Linked DNA regions of Homo sapiens: all the other regions are linked to region 2. Evidence: promoter capture Hi-C in 16 types of primary human blood cells and fetal thymus (Javierre and others, 2016). All regions are on one chromosome and are shown on one strand. Each heading gives the region's core, a stretch centred on a gene start or on the middle of the fragment in contact. The rest is flanking DNA. Distances are from core to core; before and after follow the strand shown.

Evidence for each region. The method cuts DNA at HindIII sites, captures the fragments that hold promoters and counts their contacts. A CHiCAGO score of 5 or more calls a contact.
Region 1: a contact is called between a fragment that was not itself captured here and the fragment with the promoter of NUBP1 in region 2, in 1 of 17 cell types (M0 macrophages). The highest score is 6.0, in M0 macrophages.
Region 3: a contact is called between the fragment with the promoter of USP7 here and the fragment with the promoter of NUBP1 in region 2, in 7 of 17 cell types (non-activated CD4 T cells, total CD8 T cells, naive CD8 T cells and 4 more). The highest score is 13.9, in non-activated CD4 T cells.
Region 4: a contact is called between a fragment that was not itself captured here and the fragment with the promoter of NUBP1 in region 2, in 2 of 17 cell types (non-activated CD4 T cells and total CD4 T cells). The highest score is 5.1, in non-activated CD4 T cells.
Region 5: a contact is called between a fragment that was not itself captured here and the fragment with the promoter of NUBP1 in region 2, in 1 of 17 cell types (total CD4 T cells). The highest score is 5.6, in total CD4 T cells.
Region 6: the fragment with the promoter of RSL1D1 here is called in contact with the fragment with the promoter of NUBP1 in region 2 in 2 of 17 cell types (fetal thymus and total CD8 T cells); the score reaches 7.2 in fetal thymus.
Region 7: a contact is called between the fragment with the promoter of CARHSP1 here and the fragment with the promoter of NUBP1 in region 2, in 1 of 17 cell types (non-activated CD4 T cells). The highest score is 5.3, in non-activated CD4 T cells.

What each region holds. Positions count from the first base shown.
Region 1 is chr16:9,111,339-9,115,138 of GRCh38, forward strand. All of the region lies in intron 3 of HAPSTR1 (HUWE1 associated protein modifying stress responses), which reads left to right. Among named protein-coding and RNA genes, the nearest start is that of HAPSTR1, 22 kb to the left of the region's middle. The HindIII fragment of the contact is 2,580 bases long and covers 220-2,799 here.
Region 2 is chr16:10,742,357-10,746,046 of GRCh38, forward strand. NUBP1 (NUBP iron-sulfur cluster assembly factor 1, cytosolic) reads left to right here and starts at 1,486. Exons shown (of 11, transcript NM_002484.4): 1 at 1,486-1,526; 2 at 1,605-1,709. The coding sequence starts at 1,508. RefSeq lists an enhancer at 1,295-1,344. The HindIII fragment of the contact is 1,155 bases long and covers 903-2,057 here.
Region 3 is chr16:8,962,115-8,965,751 of GRCh38, forward strand. It overlaps USP7 (ubiquitin specific peptidase 7), which reads right to left and starts at 1,792. Exons shown (of 31, transcript NM_003470.3): 1 at 1,093-1,792. The coding sequence starts at 1,171. It overlaps USP7-AS1 (USP7 antisense RNA 1), which reads left to right and starts at 599. Exons shown (of 2, transcript NR_184341.1): 1 at 599-780. RefSeq lists enhancers at 163-699, 3,396-3,637 and a silencer at 1,895-2,254. The HindIII fragment of the contact is 5,189 bases long and covers 1-3,637 here.
Region 4 is chr16:12,077,020-12,080,889 of GRCh38, forward strand. It overlaps SNX29 (sorting nexin 29), which reads left to right. Exons shown (of 21, transcript NM_032167.5): 11 at 1,814-1,896. Among named protein-coding and RNA genes, the nearest start is that of SNX29, 100 kb to the left of the region's middle. The HindIII fragment of the contact is 4,146 bases long and covers 1-3,870 here.
Region 5 is chr16:11,912,517-11,916,347 of GRCh38, forward strand. GSPT1 (G1 to S phase transition 1) reads right to left here and starts at 3,440. Exons shown (of 15, transcript NM_002094.4): 1 at 2,853-3,440. The coding sequence starts at 3,204. RefSeq lists silencers at 2,570-2,619, 2,660-2,899, 2,990-3,059, 3,770-3,829 and enhancers at 2,884-3,821, 3,430-3,579. The HindIII fragment of the contact is 866 bases long and covers 1,273-2,138 here.
Region 6 is chr16:11,849,730-11,853,245 of GRCh38, forward strand. It overlaps RSL1D1 (ribosomal L1 domain containing 1), which reads right to left and starts at 1,813. Exons shown (of 9, transcript NM_015659.3): 1 at 1,679-1,813; 2 at 550-689. The coding sequence starts at 1,783. RefSeq lists enhancers at 975-2,174, 1,947-2,481, 2,482-3,015 and a silencer at 1,743-1,929. The HindIII fragment of the contact is 5,793 bases long and covers 1-3,516 here.
Region 7 is chr16:8,867,004-8,870,526 of GRCh38, forward strand. It overlaps CARHSP1 (calcium regulated heat stable protein 1), which reads right to left and starts at 2,003. Exons shown (of 4, transcript NM_014316.4): 1 at 1,963-2,003. CARHSP1-DT (CARHSP1 divergent transcript) reads left to right here and starts at 2,278. Exons shown (of 2, transcript NR_186721.1): 1 at 2,278-2,325; 2 at 2,610-3,036. RefSeq lists enhancers at 1-160, 1,166-1,225 and a silencer at 1,366-2,325. The HindIII fragment of the contact is 19,717 bases long and covers 1-3,523 here.

The DNA of each region.
Region 1 (3,800 bases), core at 260-2,759, 1.6 Mb before region 2:
AGCAGTCTCTTAATTACTTAAAATGAATTATTTCAAAGAATCTTTAATTGAATTTTCTGTGAAGTCTGGAATTTGTAAATTATGTCCCTTTGTTCAAACCAGCCCCTGAAAAGAACAATTAAGGCAATTAAGATAGCATTAAAGTTTTCAATGAAGTTGGCATTTTCTGTGTATTAAGATTAGATGTTAGCTGCTGAAGTTTGTGGAGGTCGGACATAAAGCTTCCAACATCAGTAATGCAAAATTGTCTTGAACCTGCGATAAAATTTTGTTGGACTTTTTTTTCATTGCAGTGAAAAGGGCCATGTAGCATGCCTCAAAGCCAGGTTACTCAGCCTAGTCCTTGTTTAAGCAGTTTTGATATTCATTCAAGTTCAATTTTCTCACTGATTTTATGATTAATTTCTTGGAAAATTTGAAAGTTTTCAAGAAGTAAAAAATTAATATCTTGTTATCCCAGTATATAGAGATTAACTTCAGTTCAATGTTTGGTGCATTTTCTTCTAGTCTTTTTTTCAATGTATAAATATTAAAGTTATTTCATAGTTGAGATCATACTGCATATATGATTACTGTATCTTGCTTTTTTCATTTTAACGTCGTGAGCAATTTTCCCATGACATTACAAACTGTCTTTGAAAAATGGAAAACATTTGGGGCTGTCAGCATAACTGAAAATGTTTTCTTGGTGTGACACATGTATCTTTGTAATTGGTTTGATTTAGTGTGCTTTATTTCAATAAAAATTCAGTATTATAATTTACAGATTGGGGTGGGGAGTGGTATCTACTTCAAATTACTGAAATCTTCCTAGTAGAATTCCTTTTTAAATGTTTGAACTCCCCTGGTACATCTTAAACACGACATTGACACTGCAAGTGCTTGGATGTCCTGGCACCTCAGAACACAACTTTGTGCAAAAGGAGTGCTGTGCATCTGAATAGTGCAATTCATTTCCAATGCAAGAATGCCAGTTTCTTAGGGCCCCCGGTCAGGATATTACCCACTTGGTTTAAGTTGTGATTTCAAATCCCATTTTCTATGGGAGATACACTGGTGGAACAAATCTGCAGAGGGCCCTGCACCTGCGCTGGTGGATCAACGGTGTCTTCTCACCTCCAGGGCTAGCTGCCTTGCCTTCCCTCGTGGGGCTTAAGTGGCTGGGAAGCAGATAGACAGTGTAGATGAAGTCCTGGGCCACTGGCTGCTGGACTGAGGCAGTGAGATGACTGGGCTGGCATTTGTTCTTTCTCTGCCTGTGTGTGACCTCTAACTATGTGCCTGGAAACTGAATTACATGTAATTAATGCTGCAAACAGGATTTTCTTATTGCCTAAGCATGAACTTGGTATGAAAATAATAGTTAATAATTTACTATGTAACTTGGATTCTTATAACCTGGACTGTAAGTTTGTTTTAGCTCCAGTGGGAGTTTCCTTTTCAAAGTATGATGAAACCATCCTCATCTTTTCTACCCCTGGACTAATCATTTAAAATGGATACAGACACTTTAAAACTGCTGAGTTTATCTTGTGTTAAGCAATTAAGACTTCTCTGTCTAATCATGCTACTTGTTCTGCTTTTGTCAATTGATACTCTCATAGCCCTTTTGAAAAAGTATGTTTTTGTAGAAATTAAGTTGTATGCCCTCAGGACGTACAACTTGGTTTTTTTTTTTTGTTTTTTTTGTTTTTTTTTGTTTTTTTTTTAGTTCTGAAGCATGTTTAGATTTTTCTGTACTTGTATAGGTCTGATTGTTTATGTGGCTTAGCTAAGGTTTCCTAAAGCATCTTCTAGTAGCTGTCATTGGTTTGTAAAATAAAATTTGGGCTGTCAAAATGCACATTTTTTGGTTGTTAATCTTAATTATTTTTGACCCTTGTGAAAAGTCTTTTTGGGGAAGATTAGGTAGGCAGACTTTGAAAATATTTTCACTGCTATGAGAGTCAGTCATAGATCATATTGCACATTAAAGTTATCAAGATAAACACCCAGGTCATACACCCAGTAGAAAAAGATGATTTCCCAGAAGCTGTTAGAATTTTCAGATTGACCAAATTGATGTTTAACACATCTTCTTTTTCATGGAGAATGGCAGCTGAAACAATAAGGAACATTTGCTTGAAATCCCTAGTCCACTTCTGATACAGTGTTTTGAGCCTTCCATATTTGTTGTTAGGTATTAAACGTGCTGCCATGAGACTCCTATGTTAACAAGGGCATTAGGGTGGGGTTTGTTGAATTCTTTTTATAATTTGAAATGATAAAGGGGATCTTGATTTTAATTATTGAAGTAGCCCAGTTTATTGCTGAACGTGCCCATATTTTGCCATAATAATTACCTTTTGGATTATGAAACAAGTACGAAAGGTTATCTTTGAAGAACATGGGCACCTTGTAATATGTTACAGGCTGAGACACTAGGATGAAAGAAGGCACATCTCTCCCCTCAAGTTTAGTCTTGCGGTAGAACTTTAAAAAAAAGCCAACAATGGGGATAATTGAGTTTTAAACTTGATGGCAATGATTTAAGTGAAGAGAACACCTGGGTTTATTTTCTGGTGTTGGAGAGGTGAATAAACATCAACAGTTGAACCTTTGATTTCAGTGGATTTCAACATGAGGGGGTAGGACTTTGAAGTATTATTCTTTTTCAGAATTCGTAAGTGCCAGGCACTGTGCTTAGGTCATTAGATGGAGATGAAAAGATATTTTCTATAGGAAGAGACGGTTGATTGTACCATGCTGTAGAAAGATAGCTCAAGATTTTTTTTTGGTTTATTTTGTTTTTTAAAAGTAAGCTTGTGCCGGTTGGGGAAGAGGAAGTGAAGTTCCTTTTTGATGGTGTTGAGTTTGAGATGTCCAGTAGGCAGTTAGAAATCTGGGAGGGCCGTTGAGCTCATTAGTCTAGTTTTGGGAAACGTGTGTGGGTAAGGTAGGGGTTGAGGATATCACCCAGGGTGACACCAGCCTTTCAGGGGCAGAAGGGAACCCCACCAAGGCGACTGAGGAGTGAGCGGAGAGTTTCAATTTCAAGGAGGGGGAAAGAGGAGCCAGCAGGAAACTAAAATGGAGAGGTAGGAGAACCAGGGAAGGAGCCTCATAAGGGAGGTGCTGGGGAACAGGTGGGCTCACTCAGGGAGTGAATGTTGGGAGAGACAGACATTTGCAAATGTTGGAAGAGACAGATAGTTGCAGGCCTCACTATTTCAGAGAGCTGCAAATTGCATGATGTTGGTAGTCGGGATACGGTCTAAGGGTGAAGTGAAGAGAGCAGGAAGGGAAGAGAGAGAAACTGTTCAAAGAGATGAGGCCTAAGAGGCAGGCTGGCCCTAGGACCAACCTGAAGCCACCTTTTTGCTAAAATACTCTAGGCTTGGAAGAGGATCAGAATAACTGAATAGGAATATAGATTACACTTGGGTGGGAGTGCCAGCTCTTGTTTACTACCTGTTGACCTTGGATGAATTAACTTTTAAACTTGGGTTTTCACCTGCAGAATGGAGATATTATAGGTGTCATAGGAAGTAATTGACATAGTACCTGACACAGGAAGTATTCTCATGTTAATGCTTCTATTTTTTAATAGGTGCTAGCCTTGGAAAGGTTGAGAGGCTGAAGAGGGACAGTTTGATTTCCTCTGACCACCAGCAGGAGGGGAGGATGTGTCTTCTGCAGGGAGAGCAGCCAGGGGGATTGGTTGGATCAGTGCAGAAAGGAATGGGGGCACCTAGAGTGCGGAGTTGAGCACCTCAGAAGGGAGGTGTGGCCCTCAGGACATTGTCAGCATGTGCGATGAT
Region 2 (3,690 bases), core at 236-2,735:
GTTTCCGAGGCCGGGTGCGGTGGCTCATGCCTGTAATCCCAACACTTTGGGAGGCCAAGGCGGGCAGATCACGAGGTCAGGAGATCGAGACCATTCTGGCTAACATGGTGAAACCCTGTCTCTACTAAAAATACAAAAAATTAGCCGGGCGTGGTGGCCTGTAGTCTCAGCTACTCGGGTGGCTGAGGCAGGAGAATGACGTGAACCCAGAAGGCGGAGCTTGCAGTGAGCCGAGATCCCACCACTGCACTCCAGCCTGGGTGACAGAGCGAGAATCCGCCTCAAAAATAAATAAATAAATAAACGTTTCCATATTCTTAGTGTCTGGGGCTAGGTAAAGTTTGTTCACTCATTAATATTCCAGGTGCCAAACCTGTGAGCAATGACACTCCAGTAGCAATGAGCATTTGTGGCATCCACATCTTGGTTTCTGAACTGTTGTCTGCTAAAAAGTAACCAAGGCTCCCTGAAGAAATGACTGCAGCAGGGAGAAGGGATGACTGAAACATCTTGTATCAGAAAGCAAGAAAATGCTCAAAGAAGCTGGATTAGTGCCCAAAGAACATAAGAACTGTCTTGAAGGGGCTTCACTGGCCACATCTGGGGGAAAAAAAATCGACCAGAAAGAATAATAATTGATTATAAAAGACAATTTTAAAAAATCCAGGAATCCATAGTGAGTCTTCGAAAAAAAAGAAAAAAAGAGAGGGTATAAAACTGATATATATTTATCATATATATAATCTATAGTTTTATATATATATATATAAATGCTGCTAAAATCACTGAGTGAAAGGCTGATAGAGAAGAAGATGGTCCCAGAGAGTACCTGTTAATTACAAATGGAAGAAGGAAACATTAAATGGAGAAATGGGGCAGACACCACCTTTAGCAAGCGATCAAGCTTCACATTACCAAAAACGGGACAAACTGACATTATCCAAGTGTGTTCTGCAGGAAAAAAGAAAAATTAACCTTTATCTAATTACAAGGCAAGAGGGAGGGGAGGATTAGACAAATCAAGAATATGGGATATTCTATTACACAACTGGTCTGGACCCGTCAAAATTATCAAGGTGATGAGACCCCCCCTAAAAAAAGAAGGACTGATCTGAATTAAAGGAGACCGAAGAGAAATAACTCCAGGCAGTGAGTGAATCCAGCAGGGGAGGGGGTCTAACAACTGAAATTGAAATATAAACTGTCTATTGGCTAATACTGCATTGGCTAGTACTGCATCGATATTAAATCTCTTGGGTATGAAAATGGCACTGATGTCATGAAGAATGGCTTTGTTCTTAGGAGATGCACTGCAGAAGTATTTATGATAGGAAATCTCTGAAAAGGAACAGACGTTGAGTCCCAGTCTTTCGGCCCAAGGTTCGCGCGTGCGCACAGCCCCCTTTCCGAGACTTATTTCGCGCGGTCGGAGAATCAGATTGTGCCCACAAGGCGGAAATGTACGACAGCGGGTTCCGGTGACCACGAAGGCGGCAAAGGCGACGGAATGGAGGAGGTGCCTCACGGTAAGCTCGCGGAGGGGGCGTGGGTCGCGGGGCGAAAGTGTCGGGAGCTGCTCTAACTGTGGTCTTGTCTCTGCGCAGACTGTCCAGGGGCCGACAGCGCCCAGGCGGGCAGAGGGGCTTCATGTCAGGGATGCCCCAACCAGCGGCTGTGCGCTTCTGGAGCGGGGGCCACTCCGGACACGGGTGAGAAAAGGGCAAGGCCTCAACAGGAACTTAGAGGCGCAGGCCCGGAAAAGGCGGGGCGTGGGAGGGAGGGGGCGGGATCTGCAGAATGACTGACAGCGGCAGGCTAGAAGGTATTGTATTCGGAGAGGGGTGGGGCCCAGAAGGGGCGGGGCGTGGAAAGTGGGCAGGGTGAGGGCGGAGCTTGGAATGACTGACAGGAACGAGGCCTTTAGAAGGCGAGCGCGAAGGACCTGGCGCGGATGGAGGGTGGAGACTGACCGGCGCGGAGTCGAAAGGGACATTAATTAAGAGGGTCGGGGCCAGAGGTTTGAGTGACAATAACAGACCGCAGAGAAAAACGGGATAAGCTTCGAAGTCGGGGAGTCTTCGGACTTACATCCTGGCTCTGCCAGCTACTTTCTTGACACAATTTTCTTCCTTTTGAGGAGTGATTCTCCCACTCATTCAGCAGAAATGTGTTGATCGCCTCGTAGGTTTGGTGCTGTCCTGGGGACACAGCTGGGGATCAGGCGTGGTCACTGCTCTAGTGGAGTTTAGCTTTACTGGGGAAACAAACACGTGAGCTAGCAACTAAACCACCGCAGCTTTAAGTGCTGTGAAGCACAGATTCCAGGATGAGAGGACCCAGGGAGCCTGCTCAGAAGGACCTTAAAAAGCAGGAGGCAGGAGGACAATATTTTTTTTTCTTTTTTTTCCCCCTTTTTTTTTAGACAGAGTCTTGCTGTGTAGCCCAGACCAGAGTGCAGTGGTGTGATCTCGGCTCACTGCAACTTTCACCTCTCAGGTTCAAGCGATTCTCGTGCCTCAGTCTCCCGAGTACCTGGGACTACAGGCGCCTGCCACCACGGCTGGCTAATTTTTATATTTTTAGTAGAACCAGAGTTTCACCATGTTGACCAGGTTGGTCTCGAACTCCTGACCTCAAGTGATGCATCTGCCTGGGCCTCCCAAAGTGCTGGGATTACAGGCATGAGCCACTGCACCTGGCCAAGGGGGAGAATCTTGAAGGAGTTCAGAGAGAGACTTGGATTTGATTCTTGGATCCATGCGGTGTGACCTTCAGCAATAGTCCTAACCTCTCTGAGCTTCTGGTTCCTCATCAAAAATGGAGACAGGCCGGGTGCAGTGGCTCACGCCTGTAATCCCAGCACTTTGGGAGGCCGAGGCGGGTGGATGGATCACTTGAGGTCAGGAGTTCGAGACCAGCCTGGCCAACATGGTGAAACCTGTCTCTACTAAAAATACAAAAATTAGCCAGCATGGTGGTGCATGCCCGCCCTCGAGGCTGAGGTGGGAGGATCACTTGAACCCGGGAGGTGGAGGTTGCAGTGAGCTGAGATCGTGCCACTGCACTCCAGCCTGGGTGACAGAGTGAGACCCTGTCTCAAAGAAAAAAAAAAATGAAGAGAAAAATAGTTATCTCTGTCAATGCAATGGAGAGACTGAACTGAGCCTCAGTGGAGGTTTATTGGGCCAGAGCTTGAGGGCGTGCCCTGGAAAATACAAGTGACAGAAACATCTGTGGCCTGTGCTCGATGGAGTGGTTCCAGAAGGCTGGTGTTTATATATTTCATTAAAAGGGGAAAAAGCATGCAGGAAAAAGTGCAGTAGGCCTCGTGGCAGGTAGTTACATTCTTGTGAGGTTTTAATTCGTGCCCAGTATATCTACACTATTCAGAAAATAAAGTAAACATTCAAAAGAGGGAATAAAGGAAGAATTAATTAGGCAGACGTCTCAGGGTAGGAGAGGAAGGACTATCTCATCCCATCTTTGTTTGGCATGTGGGAGGATAAGCTTGTAATGGACATGGTCAGTGTGGCGTTTAACAGACATCAGTAATAGGGAAGGAGTTAGACTGAGGTTACAGTCCTAAAGTTACAGTTGGCATGTCCTTGTTTATGGGAGGATACTCATCTTCAAAGATTTAGGGGCCAGCAAAGGAGTTCCTTAGGAGCAACTTGTGAGGGCAGTCATCCC
Region 3 (3,637 bases), core at 542-3,041, 1.8 Mb before region 2:
ACAGGACAAATACTGCTTTTCCTGAGCTCCCCTGGAGCTTCATTCATTGAGGCAACCCAAGATCCCTTGCTAAAAGCAAAACTAAAGCATTCCACGCCGTTTTCATTCAGGTGGCCTCCATTTGACTCCCGACAGCCTGAACTCGTCACGTAGGTAAGAAAACTTTTTAAAGACCATTTGGACTTTGCTTTGTTTCAGTGAAATGGGTCGTGAGAAAAAGTGCCTTCCAACGACCAACTCCCTAAATCCAACACCCTTCTCTTTACAGCGTCTTCACATCCAACCTTTACAACCAAGACTCTATACCTCAAACTACAGTGCCTTGGAAAATTACTGCCACATCGGCAGAAAACCGAGTTACCTTTCGAGTCAGGTTTGATTCTGATGCAGGCAGCCATGTGCGGCAGGGCTTTCGCACGGTTGCAAGCGCACACCTGGCCGGATGCTGGCTGCACCACACACTGCCAAGTACAAACTCCCCGAAAAACAGGTGGATTCGGAAACCAACAGCGCCCGGGTCAGAACTCTGGGCCAGTCCAAAACCTGACAACATCTGCGTTCCTTGCAGGTATTTTCGAACGTAAGCCCGACGCTAGGCAGTGCTGTTAGAAAGTGATTTGGAAGAGCGCTTCCGAGCCACGGCGCGCCCTCCGGGGGAGCGCACCGGAGCAGGTGCGGGCGAGCCCCGCGCCCGGGGAGGTCAGGAATTCCCCAGCCACACCAGATCCAACCGGACGCCCCAGAACGGGGACGGTCCCCGGAGTCCGCCTCCCAACCTGGGTGAGAAAACACCTCCGTCCCTCCGCTGCCTGAGCGCTCGAATTTACAACTCAGGGCGCTTTGTGCCGCGGAGGCCCGGCGGACGCGAGGTCGGGACAATGCACGGGGCCGGGGTCCCGGCGGCCGCCCCTCGCCCGCGGACCCGGCATGACTTTGCAGCCTCGCAGGCCGGGGCCGGGAGGCCAGGCCGAGGCCCGGCGGCCGCCCGGGGCCTGGTTAAAGATGGCGAGCCCCTCGCGTGGCTCCCGCGGCTCCCCCGGCCACAATGAAAGGCGCCCCCCGGCCCCGCCGCGGCCGGCCCTCGGGCCTCACCTTCCATCTCCATGTCCTCGGGCTCGCTCAACTGCTGCTCGCCCGCTTTCTGCTGCTGCTGCTGCTGCTGGTGGTTCATGTCGGCCGCGGCCTGGGCCTCGCCTGCGGCCGGGGGCCGGGGCTGCGAGCCCGGCGGGCGGGCGGCGGCGAGCCGGGGCGGCGGCGGCGGCGGCGGCGGCGGGGCGGCCTCCTCCTCCTCCTCCCGCGCGTCGTCGGCGACGGCGGCCCCGGGGCGGCCCGCGGCGGGCGGCGGCGGCGGCAGGGAGACGCGCACGTACTTGCTCGCGATTCGCCCAATCTCGGCGCCGAGGCGGGCGGGCGGCCGGCGGGCCGGGCCGGGCGGCCTCGTCGCTCGCTGCGGCCGCCGCCGCCGCCGCCGCGGGGCCCGCCTCCCGCCGCCGGGGCCGGGGCCGGGGCTGCGGGGCCGCGGGCCGGCCGGGGGCGGAGGGCGGCCGGTCGGGGGCCGCGGAGTCAGCCCCGCCTCGGGCCGGGCGCGGCGGACGGGAGGCCTGGCCGGCCGCGGCGGGCCTGCGGGCCCTGGGGCCGGCGGGAGCGGCGGAGCGGGCGGGCGACGGGCCGGCCGCGTTCCGAGAGCCGCGGCCTCCGCCTCCTCGGCGTCGTCGTCGGGGCTCCGGCAGCGGACGCGGCGCCCGGCAGCTCGGCTCGGCTCGCTCTCAAAATGGCGGCGGCGTGAAATGTCACATCCGCATGGGGGGCCGCGGAGCGAGCGAGCGAGCGAGGAGAGCAAGCGGGCGGGCGCCGAGCCGGAGGGCGGAGCGGGAGCGCAGGGCGGAGCACGGGAGGCGGAGCAGGGAGCGACCCGCCTGCCGCCGCCGCCGAGGCCCGCCTGCCCCGCAGCGCCGCGCCCCGGCACCGCCTGCGCCGCAGCCCCGCGGCGGACCCTCGGCGCTCCCTGCCCCCGGGCCCTGGGGGCCGAGGCGGGCCGCCCGGTGACTTAGCCCTGCGGAGGTGAACCGGAATCCTTCCCATCCTGGGGAGCCGGACACCCCGAAAGACCCAGGAGCGGCAATGAGGAGGGGCCCAGAAGCCACCCGGCAGCCGGGGTTCAGGTCCCAGCCTAGCGCGCCGGGGCGAGCGCTGGAGGTTGCCCGGGGACTGCTCGGGATAGGGCCCGGAAGGGAGCTTGGGGTCAGCGCCTAGAAGTTCCTGTTATTGTCGTTACTTACCCTTGCCCGCTGACGTGCACTTTTTCACCCAGTATCTACCGTGGAAGAATTTATTTTCTCACTGTCAGCCTAATCTGGCAAAGTTTGGCTCCTCAAGAGCAACCCCAGGCGGGGCGCAGCTGCTCACACCTGTGATCCCAGCACTTTGGGAGGCCGAGGTGGGAGAATCACTTGAGGCCAAGAGTAAGAGACCACCCTCTCTACAAAGGTTTTGGGTTTTGTTTTTATATTTTTGAAATGTATTTTTAATTAGCCGGGTGTTGTGCCTCCTGCCTGTAGTGACAGCTACTTGGGAGGCTGAGGCTGGAGGTTCGCTTGGGAGGTTGACTGAGGCTGCAGTGATCAAAGATGGCGCCACTGCACTCCAGCCTGGGCAACAGAATGAGACCCTGTCTCAACTAATAGTGATAATAAAATAATAATATAAAAATAAAACAAGCCCACTACCCTTCACATTTGGTATTAATTTACTTCCTTCCTATCAACCCAGTCTGGGATCATTCACCCGGGGCCTCCCTATTCCAGGAGACATTTGGTGAATATATCTCCTGTCCTGTCTCATTCAGTCATTGACAGACTGATGATTAGGGTCTCAACTTTTCCAGTTAATCAAGGCAGTGTGGGTCAATAAAAATGGAGCAAACCGATATACATTTCTACACATCTCAGGGGAGAATAGAATTTCACCCTAACAAGGCCAGAAGATTGTGGTACCTGTCTTCTCTCCATCTCCCTATACCCGCTTTCCCTGCATTTTTCTCCCATTTATGTACTGTTCATCTCCCTTCCCCCCGAAAGAATGTTTTGCTCACTGTTGTATCACAAATGCCTGGGATACACAGCAAGTGCTCAATAAAAATTGGTTGGGCCAGGTCGGCGCGGTGGCTCACACCTGTAATCCCAGCACTTTGGGAGGCCAAGGCGGGCGGATCACTTGAGGTCGGGAGTTTGAGACCAGCCTGACCAACATGGAGAAACCCCGTCTCTACTTAAAGTACAAAATTAGCCGGGCGTGGTGGCGCATGCCTGTAATCCCAGCTACTCAGGAGGCCGAGGCAGGAGAATCACTTGAACCCGGGAGGTGGAGGGTGCGGTGCGGTGAGCTGACATCGCGCCATTGCACTCTAGCCTAGGCAACGAGCGAAACTCTATCTCAAAAAAAAAAAAAAAATTGGTTGGGCCAGGCACGGTGGCTCACGCCTGTAATCTCAGCACGTTGGGAGGCCGAGGTGGGCGGATCACCTGAGGTCAGGAATTCGAGACTAGCCTGGCCAACATGGTGAAACCTCATGTCTACTAAAAATACATACAAAAAACTTAGCCGGGCATGGTGGCATACGCTGGTAATCCTAGCTACT
Region 4 (3,870 bases), core at 701-3,200, 1.3 Mb after region 2:
TCTCAGCACTTTGGGAGGCCAAGGTGGGAGGATTACTTGAGGCCGGGAGTTCAACACCACCAGTCTGGGCAAGTGAGACCCTGTCTTTACAAATAAAACAACAACAAAAATTATCCAGATGTGGTGGTGCATGCCTGTAGTGTCAGCTACTTGGGAGACTGATGTGGGAAGATCACTTGAACCCAGGAGTTCAAGCCTTCAGCGAGCTGAGATTGCACCACTGCACTCCAGCCTAGTTAACGGAGTGAGAACCTGTCTTAAAAAAAAAAAAATTGGAAAATGCAACAGTAAATGAAAAAAGAAAATCAGTCTTAACCCTCAACTTCATTATGTTGTTGATGTTTTGGTACTTTTCCTCCTAGTCATGGTGTGTGTGTGTGTGTGTGTGTGTGTGTGTGTGTGTGTGTGTATCTCTGTTAACCATGTGATGACCGTGCTGTTCTCACCAAAGACACTAAACTTTATTTTTCATGTTGTAAATTATTTGTAAACATACAGTTGATTCTTATTATTCCCAGTAGTTGTATTCTATAAAGTTGCTATGAAGACTGAACCAGTGCTCCTAGGGGAAGTACATGGTTAAGTTGCTTTGAGGCTCTGGTCACACATTTTGTTTTTGAGATGAACTGTTGCTCTTTTGCCCGGGGCTGGAGTGCAGTGGCGTGATCTTGGCTCACTGCAACCTCTGTTTCCTGGGTTGAAGTGATTCTCCTGCCTCAGCCTCCCAAGTAGCTGGGATTACAGGCATGTGCTACCACACCCAGATAATTTTTGTATTTTTAGTAGAGAAGGGGTTTTGCCATGTTCGCCAGGCTGGTCTCGAACTCCTGACCTCATGTGATCCACCCGCCTCGGCCTCCCAAAGTATTGCGATTACAGGCATGAGCCACCACACCTGGCCTGGTCACAGCATTTTTATCAACTGATCAACACATAACCTGGTTTTATGTCTGTTCCTGTTTAAAGACACCTTGTTTAATGTATGCAGTTGATTCATTAACATTGAATTCACAGCCAGCAGCACTGTAAGCCATGCCTGAATGAAGCATCTCTAACTCACAAATTATCTCCATACGGCACATCACAGCCTTCCTGTGCTTAGGAACTGTCGGCAGTACCACTTCAGCACTGTGCTTGGGGACATTTTAAACAATAAAATCAAGTGGAAAAAAAGGCCGGGTGTGGTGGGTCATGCCTGTAATCCCAGCACTTTGGGAGGCTGAGGCAGGTGGATCACTTGAGGTCAGGACTTTGAGACCAGTCTGGCCAACTTGGCGAAACCCCATTTCTAGTAAAAATACAAGAATTAGTCGGGTGTGGTGGTGCGGGCCTGTAATCCCAGCTACTTGGGAGGCTGAGGCACAAGAATCGCTTGAACCCAGGAGGTGGAGGTTACAGTGAGCCGAGATCACGCAAAAGAAAGAAAAGTGGAAAAAAAAATGCTAAAAACATGGCAGTAAATAGACAGCAAAGAGGATGCTTGTTTACGGTGTGAGATCTGAGGTCCCAGCTGTTCGACTTCAGCTGAGATTATGCACATTAGGGAGTGAAATTATTGGCCTCTGCACGTGTTCATGAATGATTGTGAAAGCACCTCAAGTATTGACTTTGGGGTTACAAATAAATTTTAGTGCGTAGATGAATTTCCAAATACGGAATCTGCAGATAACGAGGCCTGACTAATTTCCAATGACTGCCTCTATCCCTTCTAGTAGAGGTACCGGAGTAAACCGACCTCTGCTAGTTTTTGGAATGGTGAGGGTGTGTACTTTCAGTGGCCGAGTGTAACTTCCTCCTGCCTGCTTTTTCCTAGTGTGGAAGCCAGCTCTCCAGGCCACGGAAGTCCTCTGAGCAGCCTGTTACCTTCTGCCTCAGTGCCAGAGTCCATGACAATTAGTAAGTACTTTCGCAGCCCCCTCCACCAGCTCTGGGATGACTTCTGGCCCACGTCTCATGGCGGTGCCTTTGTGCTTCTAACCCTGTGACTGTGGGTTCACGTCAGGTGTGTACGTCCCTGGTTGTAGACTGGAGGTGTGGTACGTGCTTGTGGATATCCAGAACCGTGGTTAATGCGTGGCGCTTGGGCGTGTGCGCGCTAAAGGGCGTGCCTCAGGATGGAGCAGCCTTGCCGTAGACTTCTGTGGTTCCAGGTTTTGGGGTTTGCCTCCCATAATGCAGTTAGCTACAGAGGACCTATTCTAGTTGGATTTCCTTTGTAACTCTGAAGGACTCATTTTTGTAAGTGAAGAAGAATATGTCTCTCCAAGATGATTAAACTTTGCTAATGATCAGGCTTCAACTGTTTCCAACTTTACTACCTAGAAAAAGTATTAGAGATATAGCAAGGAAGACTAGGTTTGAATGGCTTTGTATAACAAAGAATAAACCAACTGTTATGTAAACTGACGGGTGCTCCTGGTATCTCACTGGTGGCTTGAGCCAGCATTTGTCCCATGGCCTCCCCTGGAGGCAGAGGGGGCACTTGTTCCCAATTAAAAAAAAAAATTAGCTTTTGTTGCTAAGGAAGGAAGAAGGCGTTTGGGAGGCACCTAGCATTTTCTGATTCAAGGGTGAAGCAGGAAGTGAGCAGACACTATGTAAACCAACAGTTGGTTTATTTTTTGTACACAAAGCCATTCAGACCTACTCTTCTTGAAGTTCCGGTGGTTAAGGAGATGTGATGGAAATTTCTCTCTATCCAGAGGTAGATGGGCTGGGGCTGGTATGTGGCTCCACGGCCATCAGAGACCGGGACTCCTCCTGTCTTGCCTTGTAGACCAAAATAGCCATTTTAGCTCCAGCCATTTCATTCTCATTCCAGGCGGCAGGAAGGAGGAGAGAGCAGAGAGACTTCGTCTATTTCTACATATAGGATTCAGGGGCCTGAGCTTGGATAGGGAAAAAAATTACAATGTTTTTCATTTAGCTCTGGGTGAAATATAGTATTTTCTTCAATCATGATCATTCTATTTTGATGTAATTGGTTTCCTTTGTGATATGGTATGTTTTATATATTTTAATACATTTTCCTGAATAGGAGCCCATGGTTATTCCTAGATTACAAAATGGGCTCTTGGTACAAAAACGTTGAAGCTCCCCCGACCTTCACTAGAAGGTGCTTACAGTATACCACTCGTGTCTTGGGCCAGCATTCATGTCATGGTCCCCCTTGGCTGCAGAGGGGGCAATTGTTCTTGATAAAAAGGAAATTAGTTTTTGTTGCTAAGGAAGGAAGAAAGAGTTTGGGAGGCACCCAGCATTCTTTGATTCAAGGGTGAAGCAGGAAGTGAGCAGACACCGTAAGGCTGCTGCGTGGGAACGGCTGGCCGCACTTTTTGTATGTGAGCATGTGTGGTTTACTGTGGCGCTGCTCAGCCCTGAACTCCGCTGAGCAGGTGTTAATAGATCACTCAGTCCATGGGACACAGGGTGGGTGAGTATGTAGCTGGCTGCTTTTCACCTGTCAATCTTTTGTTTACCACAGTACTGTTACTTACCCTATAGTTTACTTTATTATTCATTTTTATTTATTTATTTTTTTGTAGAGTTGAGGTCTCACCATGCTGTCCAGGCTGGTCTTGAACTCCTAGGATCAAGCGATCCACCCGCCTCAGCCTTCCAAAGCGCTGGGATGACAGGCATGAGCCACCGTGCCCGGCCTACTACAGTTTACTTTTTTTTTTTTTTTTGAGACAGAGTCTTGCTCTTGTCTCCCAGGCTGGAGTGCAATGGCACGATCTCAGCTTACTGCAACCTCCACCTCCTGGGTTCAAGCGATTCTCCTGCGTCAGCCTCCCAAGTAGCTGGGATTACAGGCCCACGCCCGGCTAATTTTTGTATTTTTAGTAGAGATGGGGTTTCGCCATGTTG
Region 5 (3,831 bases), core at 456-2,955, 1.2 Mb after region 2:
TTTTATTCCATGCTTGTTTCTTAATGGCAGTGAGTTCTGAGAAGCATTAAAGGTGGGATGATGCAAAGAACACCACATCATTACTTTAGAAGCTCTGGCTGTTCTAAAAAGTTCAAGTAACCCTAAAATTACTAAACCAGTTTCTTATCTAACAATAAAAAAAACTAGGTGCAAATTGCAACTTAAATACATCCTATCAGATAAAATGCTTGTTCTAATATACATTAAGCCTTGTCTTCTATATTTTTATTCACTTGGGGACCTCACTTTTTAAGGAGAATCTCTTGGCCAATTTACTTGGCTCTAGAGAACTGTGCTTAAATGAATTACACTTAATTACACTTAAATGGGTTCCACTTAATTATTTCTTAAGGAACCTATATTCTTTAGTTTTCAAAGAGATCCAAGGTCAATACTGAATCCCAAGGTCTGACTCTCCAGGCTCCTTCAACAGCTTTCCCGGCATGCAGTTTAAAAACACACCCAGCACAAATTTCGGCTATGGCTTAACTAAAGAACAGAACATGCTAGCCCTATTGTCCACTTCCTCGCTATCAAAAAAACCTTGCAAACTTTTTGGTTCCCCCTTTGTAAGTTCCAATCCAGGTGTTATTTCCTATTTATCCCCCTGCTTTTTATAAGCACTGATTGTTCTCCGATGCTGGCTTTTTATGGACTTAATAGTCTGGAACATGCAATCCAACAGTCTCAATATAACCCTGGACCTCAACTTAGAAAATCAGTTCTTTTCCAAATAGACATCCTACATAGGATAATTTTTTAAAAACATGAACTGGCATTTTGGTACAAGCAATTGGTAAAGTCGGTAACACCAAAATAGTTTTTTGATTAAAAACAAGAAAGTTGACCATGCTGTACGGATTCTCTTACTGACAGCTACTTCCCTACAGGTTTTCGCATCTCCAATTTCTAGCACTGTCAAAGAGAAAAAGATTAGGTGTAACTACAAATTAGCAACTATCAGGAAGAGAGAAAGCCCGCATAAGAGGTAATACCTAGTCACCAACAGTGACCATTCTAGACCAAGGTTGGTTATCCCCGGATGACTCGCTGGACAGGCTGTAAATGGAGTCCTGAGTCTAGTCAGAGTGGTGCTGGTGGCTCCACAGAAAGGAGGAAGAGCCAAGAAAGAAAATGGCTGGATAAACGGAATCTGCAAAGTAAGGTAGGGAATGGGCACTTTTAGGAGCTGAGAAGTGAACTAGGTTAGGCAGTCAAAATGGCTTGATGTAAGTCAAGAATTACAAGCTAAGCTTCCTTATTCAAGAGGAAAACATTGTCTAGAGCCGTACCACCCTGAAAGTGCTCGATCTCCTCAAAAGAAAACATCAACCACCCACACAAATAAATGCCACTGTCAACAAAACCACCAAATCAACCGTGCTGACGTACATACGTCATCAGAGTGTTTCTCCAGACACTATCCCTTTACCACGAAAGAGCAAACGGTGACAAAAGTTTCTGTAGAAACCAAACTCCTGGAGCACTTTTATAATGTCCACTTATCTAAGAACCACCACAATACAGAACTTTAAAGAGAGAAATCAACAATATGTTCTCACTTAAAATGCGCTGGATGTCATGACCCACCCCACTAACGTCCTGGCTAAATGATGAAAGGACGTTCAGCCTTTTCCTTCCTTTTTCATTTTCTCTTTAAGGAAACACTGATAGTTCCTAAAATAAGCACCATTAGGAAGAGAATACTTAAGTTCACTCATTTGACATTCCCACAAAATCAGTACCTGAAAGCAAGCTACCTACCACAAAATAAGCACCATTATGAGAATACATAAGTTCACTCACCGGATATTCCTACAACGTCAGCACCTGCAAGCATGCTACCTACGACTTAAGCAACCCCTAAGTACGGGAAGATGTTTAAAAACCAAAGTTAACTCGAAATTTTATGGATTAGAAAATGTATGTCTACTAGCTACGGTCAGAAAGACACGTGAGAACTATTAAATTATAACAAATGCTCAAGTGTCTGAAGAAATAGACTGAACTACTGATGCACGAACACAGTGAGTTATTCCAAGCAATCTGAATAAGGTCAACGATTTTACAGCAATGAAAATTCTCTAAACGTGTCGCTGACAAAGGATAAAAGTGTAAGCTTCACTTTAAAAAGACACAAATCAATATAGTCTCCTATCACACATTAAGTGAGGAATCCTAACTTTGTGGCACTTTGTAAACTTTAGAAGCGTACACAATGCTAAGGGTAAAACAGATCTTGGTATTGATAGCCAAGTTTCTGCCCGATCACAAGGCTGCAATGCATCTTGGGATTCCTTCAGGACGGTTGGGGGCCACGGACAGTTTAAACCGTAATTACAGTTTCAATAGTAGAAAACGCAGCAGAAGACGCTCTCTCGGCTGGGCCTAAGGTGAAAGGAAAACTCGGCCATTCGTCCTCCCCAACTCCTGGGATCTCTAAACGCCCACCCAAATGACTCCTGGCTCCATCTGTCCTCATTCTGCGCCTCGTGGCAGGGATCCGCCGCGGCCCCCACTCCGTTCCATACGGTTCCCATCTCAAGTGGGTAACTGCGGACTCCAGAGCAGGGCAGGGGCGCGGAGGGGCGGCACTCGGGTCCGGGTCTTTGGGCGCGCTGCCCGCTGTCCGCTCCCCGCCCGGCCACCGCCGCGGGCCGCCCCGCGAAGGCCGGCTCCCGGGCTCGGGGCGCCCCACCCAGGCAGACGGCGCCACTGTCAGCGCCCCACGTGCCGACCGGGCCCCAGGGCCGCGCGCCCCCGGACCGCACCCCTACGCCATGTGGGCTCCGGCGCCCGGCCGGACTTCCTCCCGCGTCCCGGGCCTTTACCCGCACGGCCTCCCGCGCCGCTGCCGGCTCCGTGGTTATTGGCGGCGCCGCCAACTGGGGGTGGCGGCGCTGCCGGGCCCCGCAGGAAGGACGGCACGAACTCGGCGGCGTGGACGTTGGGCACGAAGGGCTTGGCGTTGACGTTGAGTTGCCGGCTGAAGGCCGCGCTGAGGTTCTCCCGCTGGGCCTCGGCCGCCGCCGCCAGGGAGCCGCCGCCGCCGCAAGGGCCCGGCCCGGGGGCTTCCATGTCCGCCTGGTCCCAGCAGTCAGGCGCCGAGTCGCTGCTGCTGCTGCCGCTGCTGCTCCCGCCGCCGCCGCCGCCGCCGCCGCCGCCGCCACTGCCCGGATCCATGATCGGGGGGGCCGTGTGTGTGGTGGACAGAGAGCGGGAAATGGAGGCAGGGGCGCCCGGCCGGAGAGGAGTGGGCAACGCTGACTGAGGGAAGGCGGCGGGGCAGAAGGGCCGGGAGCTAGCGACAAAGATCCCCGGCGTCGCCGCGGCAGCAGCTCCAGTCCCGACTCCACACTCGCGACGACGACAGAGGCGGCGGCGGCGGCAGCTCAACCCTCCTCCTCGTGTGTGTGAGCGGATCTCCTCCCACCCAACCACCTCCGACGGCCTCACAGCCAACCCCACCCCCGGCGCGGATTGACCCCTCGCCGCCACCCGTACCTTCGCCTCGGTAGTTCTCTGTTCTGGCCGCCCCCGTTTCCGGCTATTTAGCGCGGCGGGAGGTGGAACTACAAGTTCCGGCAGCGCCCGCGCTACCCCGCTGCGGTTTTCCCGGGGGCCGACGGGAGTCGAAGTTCAGGGACAGGGCGCAACCGGAAGCGGCTCCGGCTCCCGGCAGGCAACGCGAGGAGGCGGAGGTCTGGTGGCCGCTCGGCGGCCCCACCTGTCACCTGGTGGGGGGGCAGCGGCAGGCCCTGGTTGGTGCAGCTCTGTGCTGGGCCGAAGACCGAGAGTATTTTAGCCCAT
Region 6 (3,516 bases), core at 563-3,062, 1.1 Mb after region 2:
GAACACCACGTTTTCGATTCAACAGACCTGATTACGTTAGCTGTCCACCAAGCTCTAAGAAAACTGGTGAAATTTCTAGAAAATTTTAGCACATCTGAATTTCTACGGTTCTTTTATTTTTTATTATTTTTTATTTTTTTGAGACAGAGTCTTGCTCTGTCGCCTAGGCTGGAGTGCAATGGAGACATCTCCGCTCACTGCCACTCTCCTGCCTCAGCCTCCCGAGTAGCTGAGATTACAGGCACCCGCCATCATGCCTGGCTAATTTTTGTATTTTTGGAGAGACAGGGTTTTACCATGTTGGCCAGGCTGGTTTTGAACTCCCGACCTCAGGTGATCCGTCCACCTCGGCCTCCCAAAGTGCTGGGATTACAGGTGTGAGCCACCACATCAAGCCTCTATGGTTCTTTTGGACATAGTTGTTTTACTTCACGTCAGATTTTTATTATAAGTTTGCAAAGTTTCCATTAGTAACCATGATGCAATTGTTCGAGTTACAAAGAATAAACACACAGATAAAAACAGCAAAGGTAGAAAATCACAACTTACAATCTGACCCTCAGTTCTTTACTTGGAATTTTCCATAATACCACCATTAAAAATAAACTTTCATTCTCATTCAAAAGCAACCCATAATTGTTTTTCCTGGACTTGCAATGCGTCAAGAGAGCGTCCACTGCCTTTCTAACCTGCAAAGTGGAAATTAGACAAATAAGTGAAATGTTTTCACAATAACTTACACAAATAAATGAAATGTTCTCAATCTAATTTAGCATTTGCCCCCTCCCACACCTTCTATTTTTTCCCTTCCAACTTCTATTTCAAGGGGTAACCTCCATAACCGTATCTATTAGGATCCTGCAGTTTATATTCACAGAAATCTAAGAATCCATCAAACATGCCTAAGTACCCACTTCCAGTACTGTGTGCAGAAGGGCACCTCTTCTACTTAAAGAGATTGGGCTAGAGGGAAACGTGCCCCTCCTGCCCTCAATGATGAAAGCAGTAATCCCAGGAAAAACGCAAAGCAAAATGCATTTAGCATTTACTGAGAACTCCTGGCAATTCTCCTGCCTCAGCTTCCCGAGTAGCTGAGATTACAGGCGCCCGCCACCACGCCCACCTAATTTTTGTATTTTTAGTAGAGACGGGGTTTCACCATGTTGGCCAGGCTGGTATCGAACTCCTGACCTCAGGTGATCCACCCGCCTCGGCCTCCAAAAGTGCTGGGATTACAGGCGTGAGCCACCGCGCCCGGCCTACTGAGCACCTTCTTACCATGTACCAGGCCAAAGCGCTTTACACTCATTACCTCTCCCGATCCTGGATAACGGGGAGCCGAAGGGCCCACTTTAAATAACGGGTAACAGACCTGCAAAACTAAGCGATTCGGTCAAGCGCTAATGATAGGGAAGCTAAGCCAGGTCGCCAGGTCTATCTCATCTAGCTCCACAGCACACTTGCAACCCAATTCACTAGCGCCAGGCCGCAGGACCAGGGAAAGCAGGCGCCCACCCACGTGTGTAAAGGGGAGAGACAGCTGAGGCACACGGCCCGCCAGCGACCGTCCCACAGCCCCGGGGAAGTCCGCCGAGCACGCACTCGGGTTCCGGCACCCTGCGCCTCACGAGGTAACCGCCACACTGCTTCCAAGCCACCCTCCCCAGGAACCACTCACCTGTTCTTTATCCAGCTGCTTCCGTGCTGTCGGGGCCGCTGGAGTCGAGGTGGAGGTTCCAGTAGCGGCTGCAGAAGACAGCGAGGCCGAGGCCGAATCCTCCATCTTGTTTCCACCTCGTGAAGAGGCGCGTGTGCAACCCCACTGCTGGCTTCTGGTGCGCACGCGCGAGCAAGCCCGGCCCCGGAAGCGAGGGGGCGGGAACCGAGCCTCTGTGCGTCATTTCCGGGAGAGCGTGGGGTTTCGCTCTCCGGGGCAGTGGCTGCTGTCAGAATCCCTTCTTTGAGGAGGCACCTGCTCTTCCGCTTTTCTCCAGCTTTCCATGAGCTGTGGGGAGTAGCTTGGGTGTCCTCTCACTCTTACTAGATAGAAATCAAGAAAGCGCCTTGAGGCGAGAGAAGAGTCCCGTCAGGAGGCCCAGTGGGGTCCTCCACACTCCACGGTCCCCGCCTCCGGGAAGGCCGCGCGTGGCATGGGCAGAGCGCGGAATCCTGGCTCCACTGCCCACCTGCCCGTTGACTTTAGGCGACGCCAACCCCAGGCTGGTGAGGAGTCCCTGAAATATAAGGCACGGGAGCCACCCGGAGCCACCCGACCTGCCACGTTAAGCAGCATGAGGGACCGAAAGATGAGTCTGGGCCAGTCTCTTAGGAGCTTCTGGTCTCGCAGAGAGGCGGGAGGTAAGATCCTGTACAAATAAGCGTGGCTGGTCGTGCGCGTGGCTGGCGTCTGGAATCCCAGCGCTCTGGGAGGCCGAGGCGGAGGGATTCCAGGAGTTGGAGACCAGTCCGTGCATATACGAGACTCCGTCTCTCCAAAAATTATAAACATTAGCCGGCGTGGTGGTGCGCGCCTGTAGTCCCGGCTACTTGGGAGGCGGAGGATGGAGGATCTTGAGGAATTCGAGGCTCGGTGAGTTCTGATCCGCGCCACTGCACTCCAGCGTAGGCAGTAGAGTGAGACCTTGTCGCTAAACAAACAGGTTAGGAGTGGAGGCTGGATAACTGACAAATGGAATACCTTAGAACAGGGGAGTCCAATCTTTTGGCTTCCGTGGGCCACACTGGAAGAAGAATTGCCTGGGCCCATATATAAAACTAATACTAATGATAGCCGACGAGCTTTAAAAAAAAAATCTAAAAAAAATCTCGTAATGCTTTAAGGAAGTTTACGAATTCGTGTTGGGCTGTATTCAAAGCCTGGCCTCCAGGGCCGCACGCGGCCCTTGGGTAGGACAGGTTTGCTTTGTAATGTCTTCCTCCCACTCCACCCGCCTCCCCAGAGGTACCCTTACCAGTGTCTCCTGGAACCTTCCAGAGATGTTCTAGGCATGTTTAGGAGATACTTCTCCTTTCTCTTGTTGGATGGGTTTAATTAATTTTTTTCCTTTTTTTTTTTTTTTTTTTTGTAATGGAGTCTCGCTCTGTCGCACAGGCTGGAGTGCAGTGGCACGATCTGGGCTCACTGTATCCTTCGCTTCCCGGGTTCAAGCAGTTCTCTGCCTCAGCCTCCCGAGTAACTAGGATTACAGGCACGCGCCACAACGCCCGGCTAATTTTTGTATTTTTAGTAAAGATGGGGTTTCACCATCCTGGCCAGGCTGGTCTTGAACTCCTGGACTTCATGATCCACCTGCCTCGGCCTCCCAAAGTGCTAGGATTATAGGCGTGAACCACCACGGCCAATTTTTTTTTAAAGAGGGAGTCTTGCCCTGACGCCCAGGCTGGAGTGCAGTGATCTTGTCTCACTGCAGTCTCTCCCTTTCGGGTTCAAGCAGTTCTCCTGTCTCAGCCTCCCGAGTAGCTGAAACTACAGGCGGACGCCACCATGCCCGGCTA
Region 7 (3,523 bases), core at 753-3,252, 1.9 Mb before region 2:
CCATTGCCTGTGCCCCCATTAGCACCCCTGGACGGCCTCGACCGGACGGGCGACCCCACCCAGCAGGGAGACGGTCACCCCACCGCCACCACCCACCTGGGACCCTGCGCCCGCCCCAGTTCTCAGCCTGGACTGCCCCTCCTGCGGGAAGCCCAAGCCCTCCTTCTCAACAAGAACCCTACTCTACACGCCTCCCCCACTCAATCCCTCCATCCTTCCCTCCATTCTCGGGGGGCTTTGGCTCAGACCTGAGATTGAGCCCTGACTGGTCCCCACTCCCTCTGTGACCCCTGCCAGGCGATTTCACCGCCCCACCCGAGTTTCCTCATCTGTCAAAGGGGACAGGAGCGGTGCTGCGTCGCAGGGCTCGGACGCTGTGCAGATGGTGCCGCGAAAATGCCAAGCGCACGGCGGGCTCAGTCCACAATAGTGCGGCTGATGGTGGAAGTGTCAGGCACGGGCCCATCTGAAATCACCTTCCCTCCCATTCCTGCCCCTGCTGATGGAACACAAACCAAATGCGCTGGCTTTGCCACTCGGTGGAACAAAGACCGATCCCCTACCTAGGGGACCCACCGTCAACCACCCTCAACCCCACCCCATGGCCCCACGCCAGGCCTAGCTCAGCTCATTGAAAACATCTACTCCCAGCCGGGCTCTGCGCCTCTTTCTTGCCCTGAAGGGACCAGCATCGAGAACTCACGGTCATCACCGAGGCCACCCAGGGAGTGCAGAGGGCGGTGGGGTCTCCAAGGAGGACCCCGAGCCCAGAGGAGGGCCAAAGGCCCGAAGGGAGGGAGAACAGAGGCAGAGAGAGGCTGGAGAAGGTAGTGGCGGAAGATAACAGGAAGCCCTGCTGAGAAGTTGGGGACTTAGACGACAATGGGACTTCGGTGGACGATTTTCAGCGTGGGGTAGATCTAAGCGGATTGTTTTTCTAAGTTCCCTCTGGCTTCAGAGTGGCAGCAAATGACAGGGGCAAGCAAGACTGGGCACAGAGAGACTGAGAAATATCAAAACAGCAAGTTAAAAAACAGTAGCTTACGTGTCTCCCGGCACGGGGCTAGCTGCCTCCTTTTACTCTCACACACCCTCTCATGCCAGAAGAAGTCAGAGCCCAGTCTGCAGATGGGGAAACTGAGGCTCCGAGAGGCCTCCTATTTGGCAGAGATTTCCCCACCTATTAAGACCCAAGGCCCTGCCTGGAGCGGGACGTCTCCGCCTCCCCCAGCACACACATCCACTCCAACCCCAGAAAACCATAGGGCCGGAGGCTTCCTTTTTAAAAATCAAAAAAGAACATTTCACTTCCGGCCTGCAAACCTGAACCGCCAGCGCAGCCTGCGGAAAGGGGGCCTGTGGGCGCGGGTGAAGTTTTTCTCCAGCGCCTAAGGCACCCCCACCCCCATCCGGGCGCAAACACCCGGGCCCAGCGCGCCCGGCGGCTCCTCCTCCCCCAGATGCGGCTAATCGCGCGGCGCCAGGACGGCTCCCCACCTCCCCCGCCGGGCCTGGCCGCCGTCCCAACCTCGAGCCACAGCTGGCGCGGCCAGGCCCGGCGGGGGGTGGCTCTGCTTCCCGCGTGCGACGCCCCCCGCGCCTCGCCCCACCGCCCGGCGAGTCCCCCGTCCAGGGCTCCCGCCCAAAGGCAAAAGCAGCGGGGAGGGCGGGAAGAGCTTCCCCTGCACGCAGAGAACAGGTGGCCAGGCGGGAAGTACTACCCGACGTCCGCCTAGAATCCTTGCCGCTGTTGCCACACCCACCCCTTCCCCTGGGGAGGAGCAACCCGCGTTCCCCAAACAGGCCCCGAGAAACCCAGCCCGGAGCCCTCCTCTGCCGAGCTAGAAGACCCTGCAGGATGGGGGACGATGGAGGCAGAGGAGGCCGAGGCCCCACCCCTGCGGCTCCCGGGGCCGCGGGCCAGGGGCGCCTATCCTGGGGTCCCCGAGAAGAGCTCCCTACCCTGCAATCCGTTCTGCTCCGCCAGCCGCTTCGCTCCGACTGAGAGCGCGGAGCTGGGGAGGGGGCGTGGCCCGAGGGGGGGTGGGGCGCCGATCCCCGCCCCCAGGAGCTCCCGGCCAATGGGGCTGCGGGAGGGAGCCCGGGACGGTGGGGGCGGGCGGGGCGGGAGTGGCCCGGACAGGACCTTTGTGTCCGCGCCTTAGACTGGCGGGAGAGCGGAACGCAGAGCGCGGGACGTAGGGGCCGGGGCGGGGCGGGGCGGGGCGGAGCTGGGCTGCACCCACCAGCAGAAAACGCCCCTGCAAAGTGGGGGAACTGTGTCCCTGCGCCCGTGCAGTTCCTTCCCCTCGCCACGCGCGCCAGGTGCGGCTCCCACCTGCCTTTGGCTCTAAAATCTGTATAATCCCGGAGGGTGTCACTTTTAGCAGAAAGGAAATAAAGGAATGAAAAGAGAGACGGAAGAAAACAAGCAAAAAACAGAAAGGAGGAAAAGGGAAAGAAAAAATACACACGCACACACACACCAGAAAAACAGGGTTTTGTTTTCTCGTTGGGGATTTTGATTTTGTTCTCTTCTCTTGTTTCATTTCTAGCCTTCCTTGAGTCCTCTGTTTTTGGAGGTAAAAAATGTTACCTCTGTTTTGCAGGAGAGGAAACTGAGGCACAGAGAGGCGACCAGCCCATGGGCACGGCCAGTCGAGAGCAGCCCCTGAAGGCGAGCCTAGATCCCGGGACCAGGGTCAGCTTGGTATTTGAGGGGCGCGGGGAAGGAGAGAGGTCCCCGGAGCTCGCCCGGGACAACAGGGCCCCCGGAGGCGGCGGTGAGGACTGTGCCTGCCTCACTCTGCAGCCCCTATTGGGGCCACTGGGGAAAAGGCCCAGCAGCGAAACCAACTAGTCCAAGCCAGGCAAGGAACCGTCCTAGACGGCTGGTGGGAACAACCGCGCAGCTGCTGTGGAAAAAGCCCGGCGGTTCCTCAAACCACGAGCCCTGGAGTCTCCATAAAACCCATCAACTCCACTCCTAGGTGTCTGCGCGCCCAAGAGAAATAAAAATGTTTGTCCACACAAAAATTTACTTGAGGCCGGGTGCGGTGGCTCACGCCTGTAATTCCAGCTCTTTGGGAGGCCGAGGCAGGAGGATCACTTGAGCTCAGGAGTTGGAGACCAGCCTGGCCAACATGGCGAAACCCCGTGTCTATGAAAAATACAAAAATTTGCCGGGCTTGGTGGCGGGTGCCTGTAATCCCAGTTACTTGGGAGACTGAGGCAGGAGAATCACTTGAACCCGGGAGGTGGAGGTTGCAGTGAGCCAGGATCATGCCACTGCACTCCAGCCTGGGCGACAGCGAGTCTCCGTCTCGGGGGGGAAAAAAAGTTAAAAATAAATAAATAGGCCGGGCGCGGTGGCTCACGCCTGTAATCCCAGCACTTTGGGAGGCCGAGGCGGGCGGATCACGAGGTCAGGAGAACGAGACCACGGGGAAACCCCGTCTCTATTAAAAATATTAAAAATTAGCCGGGCGCGGTGGCGGGCCCCTGTAGTCCCAGCTACTCGGGA